2 separate regions of the Homo sapiens genome follow, and region 1 is linked to region 2. Evidence: promoter capture Hi-C in human tissues and cell types (Jung and others, 2019). All regions are on one chromosome and are shown on one strand. Each heading gives the region's core, a stretch centred on a gene start or on the middle of the fragment in contact. The rest is flanking DNA. Distances are from core to core; before and after follow the strand shown. Region 1 has its middle 47 kb from the start of NRF1. Region 2 holds the start of SMKR1 (small lysine rich protein 1).

The links. The method cuts DNA at HindIII sites, captures the fragments that hold promoters and counts their contacts. A contact is called where the count stands out against the background at its distance.
Region 1: a contact is called between a fragment that was not itself captured here and the fragment with the promoter of SMKR1 in region 2, in 2 of the 25 tissues and cell types used here (liver and mesenchymal stem cells).

Annotation. Positions count from the first base shown.
Region 1 is chr7:129,563,263-129,565,962 of GRCh38, forward strand. No RefSeq gene overlaps it. Among named protein-coding and RNA genes, the nearest start is that of NRF1, 47 kb to the right of the region's middle. The HindIII fragment of the contact is 7,858 bases long and covers 1-2,700 here.
Region 2 is chr7:129,501,116-129,503,815 of GRCh38, forward strand. SMKR1 (small lysine rich protein 1) reads left to right here and starts at 1,416. Exons shown (of 2, transcript NM_001195243.2): 1 at 1,416-1,712. The coding sequence starts at 1,710. RefSeq lists silencers at 1,115-1,164, 1,225-1,564. The HindIII fragment of the contact is 29,122 bases long and covers 1-2,700 here.

The DNA of each region.
Region 1 (2,700 bases), core at 165-2,664, 62 kb after region 2:
GAGCCACCACACCCGGACTTAATTTTTGTATTTTTAGTGGAGATGGGGCTTCATCATGTTGGCTAGGCTGGTCTTAAATCCCTGACCTCAGGCAATCCGCCCTCCTCGGCCTCCCAAAGTGCTGGGATTACAGGTGTAAGCCACCATGCCGGCCAAACTTACTATTTTATAGTAGATCAGAAGTCCAACACGGATCTCACTGGGCCATCTAAGTGTTGGCTGGATGTATTCCTTCCAGAGGCTCTAGGAGAGAATCTATCTTCTTGCCTTTTCAGCTTCTAGAAGCTGCCCACTTTACTTGGCTCATGGTCCCTTCCTTCATCTCAGAGCCAGCAGTCTTGGGCCAAGTCCTTCGCAGGCTGCCATTCATCCAGTTCTACCTTTTGTGCCTCCCTCTTGAACTTTTAAGGACTCTTGTGGTTACACTGGACCCATCCAGATAATCCAGGATAGTCTCCCTGTGTTAAAATCGGATGATTAGCAAGCTCAATTCCCCCTTGCCATAACCTAACAAATTCACAGGGTTCTGGGTATTAGAACATAGACATCCTGGGGCAAGGGGCAGTTATCCTGCCTACCACAGGATCTTTGTTTATTTCCAGTGTTCTAAAATTTCAGGAAAATATGCCTTGATGATCGGTGTTTTTTTTTCTTTTTCATTTGTTCACTGTGCTAATTGGTGAGCCTTTCATTCTAGAAACTCATGTTCTTCAGTCCTGGAGGTTTTCTTGCATTTCTTCATTGAAAGCTTCTTCTATTTTCTTTTTTGCTTCCCTACCCTGCCCCCAGAACTCTTATTAGCCAGAAACTACACCTCCTGGTCTGTGTCACTGATTTTGTTATTTGATTCCATACCACCTATTTTCTTTATTTTTTTATTCTACCTTTAATAGAAGAGTTCCACAATTTTATCTTCTATTGAATTTAAAACTTTTGTTATGAACATTTTATTTCCAAAAGCTCTTTCTAAAATAAATAAGCTGGGCACAGGGATGCTTGCCTGTAGTCCTAGCTACTTGGGAAGCTGAAGCAGGAGGATCCCTTAAGCCCAGGAGTTCGAGTCCAGCCTGGGCAACAGAGTGAGACTCCTGTCTCTAAAATAAATAAATCAATAGGCCAGGTGCAGTGGCTCACACCTGTAATCCTAGCACTTTGGGATGCCAAAGTGGGCAGATCACCTGATGTCAGGAGTTCAAGACCAGCCTGGCCAACATGGCAAAACCCCGTCTCTACTAAAAACACAAAAATTGGCTGGGCATCGGAGTGGTTGCCTGTAATCCCAGCTAGGGAGGCTGAGGCAGGAGAATTGCCTAAACCCAGGAGGCAAGGTTGCAGTGAGCTGAGACTGCATCACTGCACTCCACCCTGGGCGACAACGGCAAAACTCCATCTCAAAAAAAAAATTATTTTTATTAAAGACAAGGTTTCACTCTTTTGCCTAGGCTGGTCTCCAACTCCCAACTTCGAGCAATCCTCCCACCTCAGCCTCCCAAAGTGCTGGGATGACAGGCATGAGCCATCACACCTACCCCTTCTTCTCCTCCTTTCTATTTTTACTGTTACTGCCTTAGGTTAGGTTGTCATCCCTCTGTCTTGGACAACTACAAGAATCTCTTAAATGGTTTCCCTGACTCCAATATCATTACCCTCCAATATCTATGCTGGCAACGGAACTGGTATTAAAGTGCAAAAAACCTGATTATTTTGTCTCCTCTTTAAATCCATCAAGAGCTCCTCTGTTGCTTTCAGATTAATTTCCAAAAGGTCTTTAGCATGTCAGTACAGACGGAGGAGAGAAGAGTTGAATTTGGAGGTTTTAGAACGTGGATGATGTCCAGGAGACAGCGTCCAGTTACATCTTAAGAAAACAGTACCCAACATGGCTTCCTTCAGCCACCCACTGATGTCTTTGCATTGCTCCATTTCATAGTCAACTTCTTAAGAAAGGTGCCTCTGCATCATTTCAGCTCTTGTTCATTTCTTAACTTGGGGTAATTTGGCTTCTGTCCCCAAAACACCAGAGAAACTACTCTTCTAAGATCACCACTGAATACTTCTCTTTCTTTCTTTTTTTTTTTTTTTTTTTTTTTTTTGAGACAGAGTCTTGCTCTGTCACCCAGGCTGGAGTGCAGTGGCGCAATCTCGGCTCACTGCAACCTCTGCCTCCTGGGTTCAAGCAATTCTCCTGCCTCATCCTCCCGAGCAGCTGGGACTACAGGTGCGCACCACCACATCCAGCTAATTTTTTGTATTTTTAGTAGAGATGGGGTTTCACCGTGTTAGCCAGGATGATCTTGATCCCCTGACCTTGTGATCCCCCTGCCTTGGCCTCCCAAAGTGCTGGGATTACAGGCGTGAGCCACCGCACCCGGCTGGATACTTTTCTTTACATTTTAAAATGTTTAATTTAGAAATAATTTCAGATTTACAAAAAAGTTGCAAATATACTAAAAAACAAAACCCAAACCCATATATACTTTACCCAGCTCCCCTAAAGTGCATGATATATAACCACGATACAATTAACAAAACCAGGAAATTAACGCTGATACCATTAACTAATCTGTACACCTTAATTTAAATTTTGTCAGTTGTTCCGCTGATGGGACAGATCCAATCCAGGATCACATATTGTGTTAGATTGTGTATTAGTTCATTCTCACGCTGCTAATAAAGACATCCCCGAGACTGGGTGCTTTA
Region 2 (2,700 bases), core at 166-2,665:
GTTTGCTCTGTTAATGAAGGATTAGGGAAAGCATATGTAAGAGAACCTAGAACATAAACAGTCCTCTTTGGAAGCCAGTTTGTCTTTCAAGAGAAAGCAAACAAAACACCACATCCTTGCAGAGCCTTCCAGGACCCTACTCCTGCTTCTTGGTCTAGCCTCCTCCCCCTGTCCCTAATTTTGGCATAATTGACTGCTCCTTGTCATCCAGATCTGTTTTAACGTCACCTCCTCAGAGAGGCCTTCCCCAGTCACCAATCTAAAAGAGCACCCAGTGGTCACATCAATTTAATGCAATATGCCATACTGTCCCTATCACTTTTAATGTCTGCCAGGCCCTCCATTTCAGCCACGACCACCTCCCCCAAATCACCCCTTAAAAGAACAAGGACTTTGCCTCATTCAGAGCTCAATTTCCAGGGCCTGGAAGAGTGTCAGGCACGTGGCAGATGCTCAATAACTGTTGAATAAAAAGGAATGATAGGCCGGGCAGTGGCTCACGTCTGTAATCCCAGCACTTTGGGAGGCTGAGGCGGGCAGATCACCTGAGGTCAGAAGTTCGAGACCAGCGTGACCAACATGGCGAAACCCCATCTCTACTAAAAATACAAAAATTAGCCGGGCATAGTGGTACGCATCTGTAATCCCAGCTACTCAAGAGGCTGAGGCAGGAGAATGGTTTAAACTTGGGAGGCGGAGGTTGCAGTGAACCGAGATGGCGCCACTGCACTCCAACCTGGGCGACAGAGAGAGACTCGGTCTCAAAAAAAAAAAAAAGGAATGACCAGTCATAAAAAAGAATGAGTCGTACCACCCGAAGTGTAGACTTCACCTGCAGGGAGGGAGGCTGGAACTGGCAAGGTTGGAGGCAAAACTGTACCTACTGTACCTTTCTCGCCCAATCCTACCTGCACATGAACTCCCTCCCCACCCCTTTAGTCTCTCGGGCCCTTACTCTCTTTATCCGGCTCTTTTGCAAACATTTCCCATGATATTCTCCCTTCACCGTCACAGTCCTTATGCTCGTTTCCCAAAAGAGCTTCTCCGATGATCTCTCCCAGGTTGGCCGAGTGAGCGGGCCTAGCCTGCGCTCTCACCCCAGTGCCACCCCAGTGGGAGCGCCGCCCGCGCCCGCCCCCTCGCCCCGCGCCCGCCCCCTCGCCCCGCGCCCGCCCCCTCGCCCCGCGCCCGCCGCTCCGGCAGCCCAAACCCAGACGCTAAAGCGCCGAACTGGGTTTCCGGGCGCTGGAGGCCGCGGTCGGCCTCGTACTAGGTGACGGCCCATCCCGCGCGCGCAAGCCCGGAACCCCGCTCCGCTCACCCTCCGCGCGCTGCCGCTTTGCCCTGGCAACGGTAACCACGGCGAGGCCCTGCCCCACGCCCGGTGATTGTGCGCGCGGCCCCGCCCCCGAGGCGCACGCCGGCCCAGCGCCCACAGCTGCGGCGGCCTAGGTGCCGCGTGGGGCAAGCAGGTGCCTCGCGTCCAGGCGGCTCCGCGGCTGGCTGCCTCCCGAGCCGGCCGCGCTCCTCCCAGCGAGGCGTGGCGGGGAGGCGTAGTGAGGCTGGGCCCGTGGCGGTTCCCTGAGGAGGGCCGAGAAGGGGCCGGGGGTGCTAGGGGAACGGGCGCTGGGGGCAGCGGCCCCGGTGGATGCTAAGGGCTTCGGGATCGGGAGAGTCCACCACGCCTGCCTGCTCGGCTGAGAATCGCCATGGTAATCCCCGTCTCCCTAAAGTACCCGGGGCCAGGGCGCGCGCCGTGGAGCCCCAGGCTGTCCCGGAGAGGCGCGGGCGCCGAGGTCACCGCCTCTCCCTGGGGTCGACCTCAACGCGTGGCGAAAAGATGGAGGGACAAGGGGTGCCCGGCGGTCCGCGCCTGCTGGGGGCGCAGCAGCCGCGGAGTCAGGCCAGCCGTCTTTCCAGGTTTTAGGTCGTGGTCCTGTTGAGCAGCCCCCACACCCAGACGGTTGATGTGGAAAATAAAGGGAGGGTGGCACCGTGGTGTGGCACGTCAGGGCGCCAGGCCATGCCCACAGTGACGGGTCCGAGCTGTTAGCTGCCGTAGCCACCCTGGGTGCCCGCGCGGGATTCTCCACTGCTCTGCAGACTCAGGAAGCAGAGAGTGAGCCTGGTACCACCACCTTGCTGTCAACAGCATTCCTGTTCTCAGCCCTCATCCAGTCACTTACGACCTCCTTCCAACCCTCGCTGCTCTTTCCAGAAGGGCTGTGACCTTCCAGCCCCTGCCCCAAGTCCTCAGGGAGGCATCATTGTCTGCTAAACTAAGTACTGCACGCTTGAGCTGGGCGCACAGAGCCCTTGCTAAAGGGGCCTCAACCTCGAGCTTTCTCTGCCATATCTTCTCTGCTAAACAACAACAAACAAAACGAACAAAAACCCTGCATCCCACACTAAACCCGCGTTCTTCTGGAAGCCCCTTGCGCCTTCCCTGTCTTGATCCGTTTTCTTTGAGGCTTGGATCAGAAGGACCCTGCCTCCTGCTTCCCCATCGCTCCTTCAGCGCCCACAGCCCTTTGCACCTCACCTCTGGTGCTTTGCCTGTTTTTCCTTGGAAAGCCTTATTCCTCATTAGACTCTAGTGTAGAAATCATTAAGTTTCTGTGTTCTTTCCAGTTTGTTTCGTGTAAAAGGATTAAGTAAAAATTTCTTGGTTTGAGAGTCATTCCATGAGCTATTAAAGGT